Linked DNA regions of Homo sapiens: all the other regions are linked to region 2. Evidence: promoter capture Hi-C in 16 types of primary human blood cells and fetal thymus (Javierre and others, 2016). All regions are on one chromosome and are shown on one strand. Each heading gives the region's core, a stretch centred on a gene start or on the middle of the fragment in contact. The rest is flanking DNA. Distances are from core to core; before and after follow the strand shown.

The links. The method cuts DNA at HindIII sites, captures the fragments that hold promoters and counts their contacts. A CHiCAGO score of 5 or more calls a contact.
Region 1: a fragment that was not itself captured here is called in contact with the fragment with the promoter of TOMM20 in region 2 in 1 of 17 cell types (endothelial precursors); the score reaches 5.1 in endothelial precursors.
Region 3: a fragment that was not itself captured here is called in contact with the fragment with the promoter of TOMM20 in region 2 in 1 of 17 cell types (endothelial precursors); the score reaches 6.4 in endothelial precursors.
Region 4: a fragment that was not itself captured here is called in contact with the fragment with the promoter of TOMM20 in region 2 in 5 of 17 cell types (erythroblasts, activated CD4 T cells, naive CD8 T cells and 2 more); the score reaches 6.9 in erythroblasts.
Region 5: a fragment that was not itself captured here is called in contact with the fragment with the promoter of TOMM20 in region 2 in 1 of 17 cell types (naive B cells); the score reaches 5.1 in naive B cells.

What each region holds. Positions count from the first base shown.
Region 1 is chr1:235,471,833-235,474,532 of GRCh38, reverse strand. The region is part of intron 5 of B3GALNT2 (beta-1,3-N-acetylgalactosaminyltransferase 2); the gene reads left to right. Among named protein-coding and RNA genes, the nearest start is that of B3GALNT2, 31 kb to the left of the region's middle. The HindIII fragment of the contact is 1,975 bases long and covers 444-2,418 here.
Region 2 is chr1:235,127,503-235,130,202 of GRCh38, reverse strand. It overlaps TOMM20 (translocase of outer mitochondrial membrane 20), which reads left to right and starts at 1,366. Exons shown (of 5, transcript NM_014765.3): 1 at 1,366-1,608. The coding sequence starts at 1,488. It overlaps SNORA14B (small nucleolar RNA, H/ACA box 14B), which reads left to right and starts at 2,266; the gene lies at 2,266-2,400. LOC105379283 (a long non-coding RNA gene) reads left to right here and starts at 2,002. Exons shown (of 2, transcript XR_949295.4): 1 at 2,002-2,574. RefSeq lists enhancers at 1,089-1,188, 1,419-1,638. The HindIII fragment of the contact is 4,902 bases long and covers 1-2,700 here.
Region 3 is chr1:235,488,665-235,491,364 of GRCh38, reverse strand. It overlaps B3GALNT2 (beta-1,3-N-acetylgalactosaminyltransferase 2), which reads left to right. Exons shown (of 12, transcript NM_152490.5): 3 at 2,097-2,197. Among named protein-coding and RNA genes, the nearest start is that of B3GALNT2, 14 kb to the left of the region's middle. The HindIII fragment of the contact is 1,907 bases long and covers 328-2,234 here.
Region 4 is chr1:235,408,616-235,411,315 of GRCh38, reverse strand. The region is part of intron 3 of TBCE (tubulin folding cofactor E); the gene reads right to left. Among named protein-coding and RNA genes, the nearest start is that of TBCE, 43 kb to the right of the region's middle. The HindIII fragment of the contact is 1,859 bases long and covers 362-2,220 here.
Region 5 is chr1:234,619,532-234,622,231 of GRCh38, reverse strand. No RefSeq gene overlaps it. Among named protein-coding and RNA genes, the nearest start is that of LINC00184, 8.4 kb to the left of the region's middle. The HindIII fragment of the contact is 1,562 bases long and covers 615-2,176 here.

The DNA.
Region 1 (2,700 bases), core at 182-2,681, 340 kb before region 2:
CCTTATTTTTTGTGAAGGTTGAAATTCTTTATATATAGTCATTTCTCCAATCCACAAGAAGTTGTTAATGTTTATAGGCACAGAAGTACTGTATATATTTAAGCTACTCTGTTGTTTGGATGAGAAATTAGAAGCTTTATGGAAAAGAGTTGATGCGTGAAAGGAGTTACAGACAGCTTGCTTATGTTATGGGAGAGATAGATATGATATCTCATTTTTCCAACCTGTATCATGCTATTTTTTCCCAACTTTTATTTTGGTTTTTATGATCTTAGTAAGGGAATTGCCATAAACAAGTTGTTTTGGATCTTAAGAGATACCTGGCTTCATAATTGCCTTACATCAGAATAAAAAGTAGGTGTATGAGAGCAGAGGTGAGGAATAGAAATTAAACTGTGTTGTGGAGCAGAAACAGGTTTAGGAGATAGGTGGAAGATAAAGCTTCTTCCTTGCTTAGTAACAAAACAGCTGATGGGTTATTTAAGTTCCATGAGTAAGTCAAGATGATTTGGGAGGACTAGGGAATTTTTCTGGTAACACATTCAATTATTCATTGAATTTGTTTGTTGTATCATAGCCTAGTCACAGACAAAATGGAGTTGGGTGCCAGGAAGGACCCACTGTGAAATAGCATGTCACATGTCATGTCAATTGAATGGACAGTACAGAGAATTACTCGTTTTATCATCATCTTTTCTAGATTTGTAGTTTCAAGGTGAGGATTTTTATCTGGTCACTATAGTTTTTACTTTTGGTATGATTCATTATTTCCTTTTTGCTTTCCTCTTAAATATTAATCATTAGGATTTGCTACCTAGCCTTCTGTTTTATTTTACTCATTCTTCCCAGGCAATTTCATTCATTACTGCCTGTATGCTGAAGGCTGTTAAATCTATAATTACAGCCCCAGCATCTCTTGTGAACTCCAGACATGCTTTGAGTTGCCTCCTGAACTTCTCCACTTGAATGTCCCATGGGCATTCTAATGGTAACATTGTCTCCATCCCATCTGTTCTCATCGCCTGTATTTTTAATCTTGGGTAACCATCTCCTTTTCCTCAAGTCACCTAAACCAGAATCATGAGAGTTATCGTCACTCTCATGTCCAGGTACTCACCAAGTCCTATCAGTTCCTTATCCTAAGTATATATGCTATCAATCCTTCCAAACTCTATCACTATTAAAGTTTTAGAAGAAAATACATTAGCTGAATACAGAGCGATAAACTGCCTGAGGAATCCGGACTCTTGGAATATTTTTATCTGTTTTGGAGGAGGAAAAAAATATTATTTATTTTAAAAAAGGAAAGAAAGGAAGGGAAAGGTTGGGCGGTGGCTCACGCCCGTAATCCTAGCACTTTGGGAGGCTGAGGCAGGCAGATCACTAGGTCAGGAGTTCAAGACCAGCCTGGCCAACATGGTGAAACCCCATCTCTACTGAAAATACAAAAATTAGCTAGGCATGGTGGCACATTCCTGTAATCCCAGCTACTTGGGAGGCTGAGGCAGGAGAATCACTTGAACCAGGACCTGGGAGGTGGGGTTTGCAGTGAGCAGAGATCACGCCACTGCACTCCAGCCTGGGCTACAGAGTGAGACTCCGTCTCAAAAAAATAAAAATAAAAAAAAAGAAAAAGTTTATATCACTCTGTGCAGAGGGAAAAAAATGTTTATAAACCACTGACCTAGCTTATCAAATTGAATTTTGTATGGTTTCCCTATACTGCTGGCTAAAATGAGACATTATTGTAAAGTACTTTATCCCTTCATTTTAACATGAAAGTTTTTAGAGTATTAGAGGTATATCTTTCATTTAATCCTCTATACTATAGTCAATTCTGGTTGATTTTTAGTTCAACATTATTTATTCAGCAAACATTTTGAGTTGTCAGTCATGTCAGGCCAGGCTCGATGCTGGGGATGCAGTGGTTGATCAGGCAAGCTCCTTCCTGTTCTCAAGGTGTTTGTCTTCTAGTAGAGGCAGTTAGTTTAATAATAAAATAAAATAAGAAATATCAGAGTGATAAATGGTATTAATAAGATAAAACAGGTTGATGTGATAGAAGTTGGGAGTTGGAGCCTTCTGGAGGACATCTGGAGAAAGCCTCTCGGAGGAGAAGGTAGTGGAGCTGAGACCTGAGCAGGACTAAGGAGCCAGCTGTGCACAGAATTAAAAATGGGATCATGGAGAAATTAGAAGACATTAAGATTTCAATATATATCAGACCTTGGGACAGGGGGGCATAGCTCTCTCAGCTCAGAATTTAATAGTAATAATCACAAAGGAAAAGTTTGTCAGATTTGCCAAGGTGAAATTTATGGACTTCTGAATTTCAAAAATAGCATTAAGTAGCAAATGAAAAACTATTTTAGCATATAAAATGTGCACAGGATTAAGATAATTACTTTATTAAAAGCTTGCATAGATGAACAAGAAAAATAGAAAACTCAGAGGGCAGATGGCAAAGCAGCATGATAAGGCAGTCCTCAGAAGAGAACATGCAATTCATAAACATCACTAGGAATCAGAAATCCAACTAAGCCAATCTTTTTTTTTTTTTTTTAAATTCAGGCAGGGCGCCGTGGCTCATGCCTGTAATCCCAGCACTTTGGGAGGCCAGGGTGGGCAGATCACTTGAGGTCAGGAGTTCCAGACCAGCCTGGCCAACATGGCGAAACCCTGTCTCTACTAAATATCCAA
Region 2 (2,700 bases), core at 117-2,616:
GCTAAGTTTTTAATTTTTTTGTGGAGACAGGGTCTCACCATGTTGCCCAGGCTGGTGTTGAACTCTTGGGCTCAAGCTATCCGCCCATCTGGGCCTCCCAAAGTGCTGGGATTACAGGTGTGAGACACTGCCTGGTCTTTGTCAAAGGACTGTTAATCCTGTGTAACTACTGTCTTCTGCAAGGATCAATATTATCTTTAAAGGGAAAATTAAACTAAGAATGCTTTTGTTCTTAAGATATCAGGACATCAGGACATTTCCTGGGTCTGTTAGGTAAACATTATTAACTTGTTCCCTTCCCTGTAAATATCCTGTGACCAAGAATGCCAAACTTCCTGGGAATGTGCCCCAATAGGTCTCAGCCTCATTTTACCCAGCCCCTATTCAAGGTAAGGTAGCTCTGGTTCCAATGTCTCTTGACACTGATGCTTGACTTCGATACCCCTCAACTTACAGTGTCTGTTTAATGCCTGCTTTCTGCCCACGATTTTCCTTGTCAATATCTTAAGTTAGATCATATATATATATATTTTGTTTTTTTGAGACGGACTCCTGATCTGTCACTCAGGCTGGAGTGCAGTGGCTCGATCTTGGCTCACTGCAACCTCTGCCTCCTGGTTCAAGCGATTCTCCCGCCTCAGCCTCCAGAGTAGCTGGGATTACAGGCCCCGGCCACCATGGCCAGCTAATTTTTGTATTTTTAGTAGAGACAGGGTTTCACTATGTTGGCCAGGCTGGTCTCAAACTCCTGGCCTTAAGTGATCCGCCTGCCTCGGCCTCCCAAAGTGTTGAGATTACAGGCGTGAGCCACCGCGCCTGGCCTGATCATGTGTATGTTTTCGTGTGGCTATAAAACAATTCACGTTTTCTATTTTTTCTTCAATTGTGTATATTTTTCAAGAAATTACTCCATTTAATTTTATTCCAGTTATCATAAAATGAGGCTATCCTGTAACATTCTTTTGAAATGGAACCACTACGCACAATGGATTGTGGCAACCTGAAAAGAAAGTACAGTTTAATTCAAACAAGTCACAGGCTGCCTGTGTTAGACAAGATGAAGCATTCGCAGTCTGGGACCCTGCATCTCTGTCTGCCACAAACAAGGCTGTCAGCTAGTCTTCTGAGTACGTGCACGCCAGTAACGCGTACGCCTCGTTACAGCATGGTCGGCGGATATGAAAAAAAGTCCGTGGTCACGTGCAAATTCCCGACTCCAGTGCGTACACCCAGCGGCGCAGGGGAAACGCCGGCTTCGCCCACTGCGCAGGCGCAGGAGCCGCGCTCTGGGCCTCTGCTCAGGCTCTGCCGCGGACGACCTCGAGGCCCTTAGTTGACTGGGACCGGAAGTGGCGTGTGCTCGGCCTTTCTGTGTTCCTGGCCCGCGGCCGTCGGGTGTGAGCTGCGCCGACCGCTCTGAGGGTTCGTGGCCCACCGCTCCTTCGCGGTCCCTGCCGCCACCGTCCACGCTCAGCGTTGTAGAGAAGATGGTGGGTCGGAACAGCGCCATCGCCGCCGGTGTATGCGGGGCCCTTTTCATTGGGTACTGCATCTACTTCGACCGCAAAAGACGAAGTGACCCCAACTTCAAGAACAGGCTTCGAGAACGTGAGTGGGTCCTCTCTCCCCTGGCCAGGCTTGCTGCCTTCGGCCGCCGCCCTTCACAGGAGGGGTCATTGCCTCCCACCAGCCTGTGGGCCGCGCAGGGCGACCGCGTGGTGCGGCCCTCAATAGGCGATGGCGCTGGCTGCGCCGCTCCGGGGGCTCTAGTGCCCCGTAGGAATTCCATTTTGGAGGAAGGATTTTTCCCGTTTTGTTTTCCCCAGACACTTTAGCCGTGCAAATGCACTCTTGATTTCTGTTGCAATCTCGGGTGTGTGTGGCCTGGGGAGGAGGTTGTCTCTTTTTTTGTCGTTCATCTTTTTAAACCTCTACTCTTAACTAAAAAGTCGTGCATTTTTGTCGCAAATTTTAGTCTGAGGCTAAATCCGCATGCTCAGTGCAGTATCATTGTTGCATTCTTTTTTTTGAGACGGAATCTCGCTCTGTCGCCCAGGCTGTAGTGCAGTGGCGCGATCTCGGCTCACTGCAACCTCCGCCTCCCGAGTTCAAGCGCTTCTCCTGCCTCAGTCTCCCCAGTAGCTGGGATTACAGTCGGGCGTCACCACGCCCGGTGATTTTTTGTGTTTAGTAGAGACGGGGTTTCACCGTGTTGGTCAGGCTAGTCTCGAACTCCTGACCTCAGATGATCCGCCTGGCTCATTGCTGCATTCTTAAACCCTCTTGGTAGCTTCGTTCTAAGTGCTTCCAAGATATGAGTGAATGCTATAGAAATTGCAGGGGAGTCCAAAGGGCTGCGCTTCTCCCGTGGCTCAGTCTTATTTCATACCTGCGACATCTTTTAAGAGAGGTCTACCAGAGGGGAATCGTGTCATGAAAACCGTTGTGATCCACCTTGAATTTTCGGAGAATCTTCATTCGCATCATTGAAGAGCAAATTTGTTGCAATAAGAAATATTTTTTGGCTTATCTTGGTTGTTCAGCCAAATTAGTTTTTGGAATTAAAATTGATACGTAAGTTACTAAAGCCCAAGGGGTACAAAGAAGGGATTATTGTTTACTTAAGTAACAGTGGTTACGGTTTAATTCAGCTATACTAAGTCATTTCAAGTGTTCAGTAGCCCTGTGTGAGCAGTGACT
Region 3 (2,700 bases), core at 32-2,531, 360 kb before region 2:
TACTGTTTATCGTAAATTCCATGAAACCAGTTGATTCTCATAGAACGCTTTTGTTGTTTGTCAGACTCTCCTATCTATGACCAACTTATGGTTGCAGTTAACAAAAGAGTGTAGTTGTGACAAAAGTCTTTCTTTTAAGTTAAACAGTGAGGTGAGGACTAAAGTGACAACTAAGATATGTCAGCTTTACACTTAATAAAGTCAGTGACTTCTATGCTGTATCAGGTAATAGTTTTGGAACACTGGAATCGTATCTTCCTTGACTTTTTTTTTTTTTTTTAACTATTCACTCTGTAGTGGCTATAGATAGACACATCACATTAAGCTTAATTTGCATTATCAACATTTTCTCTATACTTTCTTAAGTCTAGACAGTCAACAAAACAATAAACCAAACCCTTATTTGTATTATTTGCCAGTTTCTAGGGTGTGAATATTTCCACTATGGCCAATTCAAGTGACTAATGTGACATCACTGAACACAGAGTGGGGGAAAGATAAGCAGTAGCATGCCATATATACTATTTCCACCATGTAGATGTAATAAATATAAATGATCTCAAGAACATAATAGTAAAATGTAGTAAAACATTAAGTGATTAATTTGAGTATTTCCTTTGATTTTAATATATATTATAAGATTATATAATTTAATTTTAAATAAAGGCTATGTTTAATAACCGTCTCACAAAATTTCTGAAAAGTTGACAGTTGGCTCCCAGAAGCCAGTAGTAGCAGGCTTTAGCACACAGCTGTCTGTGGGTTATCTGGGTGAAGATGTCCAGTGAATTTACAGGTCCTTTACATGGGTCTAAACTAGAGTTACTAATTCAGGTCCGGACACAGTGGCTCACACCTGTAATCCCAGCACTTTGGGAGGCCAAGGCAGGCAGATCACTTGACGCCAAGAGTTCGAGACCAGCCTGGCCAACATGGTGAAATCCCGTCTCTACTAAAAATACAAAAATTAGCCAGGCGTGGTGGCACACGCCTGTAATCCCAGCCACTTAGGAGGCTGAGGCAGGAGAATCACTTGAACCTGAAAGGTGGAGACTGCAAAGAGCCAAGATTACACTGTTGTATTCCAGCCTGGGTGACAGAGCGAGACTCTGTCTCAAAAAAAAAGAAAACAACTAGAGTTACTAATTCAGGAATCATTCCCATGCTATTTGAAGCCATGAGAATAAATAATATTGTTTAGGGAGAGGAAGTAAAAAAAATGAGTAGATTGAGAAAAGACCCAAAGGCAGAGCCCTAGACTAATACCACTCTCAGTGGACAAGCTGGGGAACAAGAGGCAGTGAAGATGACTGAGCAGGCCACAGAAGGAAGGGAAGAGAGCATTTTAGGGAGCTGGGCAGTATTAAGCCGTAGAGAAACCAGGAAGGTAAGAGTTCAAGAGTGTCTATTGATTTAGCAGCAGCTCATTGGTTACATTAGTGGAATCTCAGTGGAGGTGGTGATATTAAAGCTAAAACTCTTGTTTTATAAAATGAGTGGGAAGTAAGAAACAGGCTGCAGTTTTAATTTCTTTGTAGGACCTCAGTGTAAAGTGTGGTGGCAAGGAAGGATGGAAGGTGAAGAGAATAATTAGAGTCAGGACTTTATCATGTTTGTAATGTGGAGGGAAGGAGTCACTAGTTACAGGGGTAACCAGTGAAGCAAGGTCTAGGAGAGAAGGGGATTTCCTCTTGGATGGAAAGACCTAATCTTGAGCAAAAGGAACACTTTCTGAAATAGAAGAAGGCAGCAAAGGAAAATTTTAGATATAGATATGTTTTTAGGTATGGGCATGAGAACTGACTTTACTATAGTTTGCTTTTAAATGATATGAACATTTGCTTGTAGCGAGGCCAGACATATTCATACTTGCTTTAATATAGCATTGCAATAAGGACTCATGCATAAGTAACTTGGTAGTTAGCAACTTTCAGTTTACTTGTTCCCCCATTTTGTCTGACTAGAAGAATAAAGGTAGAGAATTAATCCTCATAAACACTTGTGTCTCAAAGTAAAAGCTCTGAAATGGGCATGAGGAAACGTGCATGTGCGAGGTGAAGATCAGTAACTGATGTTAATGCCAACACATCTCTCAGTGTGCTTGTGAAGTTCATAATAGGTGCTCATGGCTGTGAAGTGCCTGTGGAAGACAGGGAGGATCCTTATTCCTGTAAACTACTCAACATCACAAATCCAGGTAAGTCATCTTTTCCCTTGACTGCCATACACAAGCTTGATGTTGAGTAAAAGTTGCTAAGCTTAATAGTATGGAGTCTGTTTTTATTTTTTATTATTTTATTTTATTATGTGTTTTAGAGACAGGGTCTTGCTCTGTCGCCTAGGCTGGCGTGCAGTGGCATAGTCATGGCTCACTATAACCTCAAACTCCGGGGCTCAAGCGATCCTCCTACCTCACCACCCTGCTAGGACTACAGGCACATGCCACGAAAACTGGCTAATTTTTTAAATTTTTTGTAGAGTTGAGGTCTCGCTGTCTTGTCTGGGCTGATCTTGAATTCTTACCCTCAAGGGATCCACCAGCCTCAGCATCCCAAAGCACTGGGATTGCAGGCATGAGCCACCATGCCCTGGAGTCTGTTTTTAATAGACTAAAATGTCTTTCATCCAAATTTATGTCTCATCTTTTTTTTTTTTTTTTTTTTTTTTTTTTTGGAGATGGAGTCTTGCTCTGTTGTCCAG
Region 4 (2,700 bases), core at 42-2,541, 280 kb before region 2:
GACTTATAGAGCCAATAAAAGCCGCTTGGGAAAACTGGCCTCACTCCTTGTCTACACAGTTCCTGACCTGTGTCCCACAGACCTATGGAAGACAAGAGAATGATCCCACTTATTCCTGTGAACCAACCAGTGATCTCTGGCTGCTGCTCAGAAGAAACAAGAGTGATGGGTAATGTTATTCTAATTCTGGGCACATATTGGAATTGGCTAGTGACTCCTTATTAGCTTGATTTAAACAATTGCCCAGTTCATGGAAAACTTTCTAATTCAGTTTACTTGGGATAATTTTATTTTTTTTATTTTACTGTTGTGGAATATATTGCTGTGATTATACTCTTTGTGTAGGAATGCAGGATAAGCTTACTAAATGTTTTCTTAAACTGAACACTTATTAATCTTCCAGATATACCTTTTGTCGGAACTCAAGAGTTATGAATGGCCTTCGCCATACCAACGCTTTCGAACTGAGCTCCTCTACCCTGAATGCAAGAGACCCAACAGTTAGGCAGGAATATCATCACCCCTGTTCAGCATAAAGAAGTTACAGAAAGTGGATCTTCATCCCTCTGCAGCCCTTAGGATTAAGGGTTCTCTCGTAAAAGGGAGGGGGGAAATATGTCAGAGACGTTTGAACCAGAGCAACTCCATCTTGAATAGGAGCTGGGTAAAATAAGGCTGAGACCTACCAGGCTGCATTCCAGACTGTTAGGCATTCTAAGTCTCAGGATGAACTAGGAGGTCGGTACAAGATACAGGTCATTAAAGACCTTGCTGATGAAACAGCATGCAGTAAAGAAGCTGGCTAAAACCCACCAAAACCAAGATGGAGATGAGAGTGACCTCTGGTCATCCTCACTGCTACACTCCCACCAGCACCATGACAGTTTACAAATGCCATGGCAACGTCAGGAAATTACCCTACATGGTCTTAAAAGGGGAGGCATGAATAATCCACCCCTTGTTTAGCATATACTCAAGAAATAACCATAAAAATGGGCACCCAGCAGTCCTCGGGACTGTTCTGCCTATGGAGTAGCCATTCGTTATTCCTTTATTATAATTTTTTTTGGAGATAGAGTCTCCCTCTGTTGCCCAGGCTGGAGTGCAGTGGGGTGATCTTGGCTCACTGCAACCTCAGCCTCCCTGGTTGAAGCAATTCTCCTGCCTCAGCCTCCCGGGTTGAAGCAATTCTCCTGCCTCAGCCTCCTGAGTAGCTGGGATTACAGGCGTGCAACACCACGCCCGGCTAATTTTTGTTTCTGTTTTTTTTGTTTTTGTTTTTGTTTGAGACAGAGTCTCACTCTGTCACGCAGGCTGGAGTGCAGTGGCACGATCTCGGTTCACTGCAATCTCCAACTCCCGGGTTCACGCCATTCTCCTGCCTCAGCCTCCCAAGTAGCTGGAACTACAAGCACCCGCCACCACGCCTGGCTAATTTTTTGTATTTTTAGTAGAGACGGGGTTTCACTGTGTTAGATAGGATGGTCTCGAACTCCTGACCTCAAGTGATCCGCCCACCTCGGCTTCCCAAAGTGCTGGGATTACAGGCATGAGCCACGGCGCCAGGCCCTAAATCTACACTTTTTAAAACAGTGGTAATAAACAAGTTTTAAAACCATGGTAAAAAAACAAGAAGTCATGAACAGATCTTTATTACTGTTGAGTTTAGTTGCAGGCAGATGAAAGGAGAGTTAGGAATGTTGTTAGGTAGTTGCAAAACGGATGCTATGCCCTTTACAGATCAAAGACTAACACTAAAGATCAATATTTTCTGGAACATTTCCAGCAGGTTTCTCAGAAAACAAAACAGCCTCAACAAATAGTGAAAAACCCTAGCTGAATGGGTGCCCATCAATAACAACAAATCTCCAAGAGGTAAACTGTAATAATTTACATAGACTCCACTGAGATTCTACATTAATATATTAAGAAACTGTATCCAAACACTGAAATTCCAAACCATGTCTAAAGAGAAAAATGTTGGTGAGGAGGAGAATACAGGGAGGGGTGTCCAAAAACGTTTCTCTTGGAAGCATTTGGCCTGTTCAGGTTCCTTCCTCCTTCTGCCTACCAATTACACATGCTGCTGGTAAAATCATCATCCTGACCCATGGCCCTTGTGGAAACAGCATGTGCTCATAAAACCCAGTTATCAAGATTCATTCTGTCCTATGTCCCCATCAGGACTGCCACATAGAATCGAAGATGCTCAGTTAAGCTTGTATTTCAGATAAACAGCAAATCATTTTTAAGTAAGTATGCCCCCATGCATGTCTCATACTTATACTAAAAAAAAAAAAAAAAAAGATTGGCTGTTTATCTGAAATCCAAAGTTCACTATGCATTTGGTATTTTTGTTTGCTGAATCTGGCAACACTACACAAAGGTAAAGGGTCCCCAACAGACTCCCAGACTTCCACAGTAAGCTTCTTTCTTGTTGGAGCTTTGGATACAAGCTACTGGAAAAGGCCAGGTCTCTGGGGAGTTTCTAATAAATACTGTTGATCTTGATACCCTGTTTGTTTCAGGAATGTTTAGTGTTCAGCAAGGTTGCATAACTAGCTGTTCATCAGGAGAGGAGAACTCAGCTTTCGTGCAGTGTTCAGCGCTGTAACATCTAAAGAGCTGACCCAGAGAGGTTGTTTTCCTGTGAGTAAAGCAGTACAGTAGATAAGCACCTTGCTGTAGACTGCTCTTTTT
Region 5 (2,700 bases), core at 146-2,645, 510 kb after region 2:
TCAAGAATTCTCTGAGTTAATGTGTGGTTGAGAATGGAATTTACCATAGTCATTTTCCCTCCCGACATATCTATTACAAAAAAAAAAAAAAAACTATCTACAGTGATTTACAAACTTTGTTTTCTTTCAGGACAACACAGCAAGCTACCATCTCATGTGCTCCAAGAAGAATTGACTCTTCCCCCTACTTCCCCCGTTTCAAGGAGGTGGGGAGGGGGGCAGAGGCACAGAATCCTGGCCTTGGTGATAGGATGTGGTGTGATGCTGTTCTTCTGTATGTACTGTCCCATGGGGTGCCTGAGGATACGGTGCTGGCTGTGGTCCAGGTAAATTGGAGACAATCCTAGAAGTAAAAACATCCATCATGCTTAGTAGGATCTTAGGTTGTAACGGCTGCCTTGAGCCTTCAGACATTTTTTTTATAAAGCTCCCGGTCATAAAGCACTCTTTCCGCCTCTGCTGCCATATGTTTTTCCAGCTGGACTTTCACCAGTCTTCCACTCTCCAGAAAGTTCTTACTCATTCAGCCCAAGGGTATCTCATCAGTTTTTCTGAGGACTGCTGGAAGTTTCAGCAGGCGTCCTGGCCACACGGAAAATCTAGCTAGCTAAGCTTGTGGATGAAGGTCTCCAGTTATGAGTCTGTGCCCTGAGATGCTGTTGCCTGCCTTATTCAAATTAAATTTAGAGAAATTTAAATAAACATATATAAATGCATGAAACTGTATAAGAAAAAAGTCCTTATTAGTATGCATTTTCTGGGACTCAGACATCCTCACCAAATCCAACAGCAAGGAAACTGAATAACTTTTTGTCTTTTAAGAATAGTTTTTGTCCGAAGATTGGAATCTACCCACTTTTTTAGCCTGATCAGCCAGTGACCTCTGAACCTTGCTTTTCATTGTTCATCTTCTATTCACCTGGGGCACTGAGGATGTTTTTGCTTTTCCAGATGCTGTTTTTACAATTGGTTGACACAATGGCTAGAGTCATGACTCTTGGGTATGCTTCGTAGTTATTTGCCTATGGGACAAGGTTCACTCTTCCAAACTTTTTTTTTTTTTTTTTTTTTTTTTTTAGAGACTGGGTCTCGCTTTGTTCCCCAGGCTGGAGTGCAGTGGCGTGATCATGGTTCATGGATCACTGTAGCATCAACCTCCTGGGCTCAAGCAATCCACCTGCCTCAGCCTGCTTAGTAGCTGGGACTACAGGTATGCACTACCACCACACCTGGCTAATTTTTAATTTTTTGGTAGAGACCCCAGCCTCCCAAAGTCCTGGGATTGCAGGTGTAAGCCACTCTACCTGGCCTTGATTTTTGTATTTTTTTTGTAGAGATGGGGGTCTTGCTATGTTGCCCAGGCCAGTCTCAAACTCCTGGCCTCCAGTGATCCTCCCGCCTCAGCCTCCCAGAGTGCTGGGATTATATTACTACTGCACCCAGCCACTCTTCCAAATTCTAACCAAGCAGTTTGTTCTTTGTGATCCAGGCTTAGTTGCTGCCCTGTTGGCCATTTTTCCTTTGGGTGAATTTAGGATTCAGTTCCTCATCCTCAAAAGCCCTAACTGAAAAGGAACTGATGACACATTCTCCATGGTAAACCCTTCTTGGGAAACTCTCACGAGGACTTGGGCACTGTGTATCCAGCTCCTATTTTAGTGATAGATTTATATTTGATTTACAATAGAAATTGAGCCCACATCCAGATTTTAATAGTGCCACCCATTCCTTACTGGTGAGACCATTCTCTTCCTACGGTCCACCCCACCAGCTGACTGCCTCTCCTCCCCACTACAGTTTCCCAGCTGTCTCCTGCCACCCTGCTTCCATTTGCTGTTGTGTATGCTCCAATTTTTTACCTTCACACGACGAAAACTTCAGGGGCAAAAATTATACCTATGATAATGTAAAGAGATCTTAGAACAACTGAGACTGGCAGTAAAAAATTCAAAATTTTGACATTCCTAGTTTGGGGAGACGAGTTAGATTCAGGGATAGCTATGAAATTGTGCTGTCTGAATTTGTAAAGTATTTTTCAAAGCAGATTAACAGGACACAGTATTATGAGGAAATCACACTGATTTTCACTTTCTTTCTCGCTTGTTGGTTTCCCTAAATGCTTAAATAAGAATATAATTACAATATTTCTAAACGATTGTGCAACTGCTCTGAAGCTTGACTATTTACCTCCCACCACTCAGAAGAATACAAGCGGTATATATCTGTTAGGTTACCCATTAAACGACTGTGACAGATCGTATTTCTGGTTAATTGTTAGTTCCTTATGACCTTAGACTTTGCCTGTGTATTTAATAACACCATCTGCTGTCTAGGGTAGCAATACCACCTTTTTACATGAGGATTACTGTTCTTACTTCGTAAACAAAAGTGCTCAATCTGAGGTGTTGAAACTGTACCACAGAATTATTTAAATTATACTACCTATGGAAAGCTTAAAGAAGAAAAAATTAACTTTCTTCTCTATGGTGGCTTTATTAGCTTCAAGTAAAATATCAGAATTTATACACCATAAGAAAAGTATTTTTAAAAGATTTACAAGTTTTATTATTGGTCTGCAAAATGAAATGTTTTAAAAGAACGTTGTCTCTGTTATACTTGTTTTGTTTATCTTCTTCTAGCCGAGTTTCTCATTGTATATGATCTCTGAGCAATTTCTCAATAAAACAGACAATTTTAAAA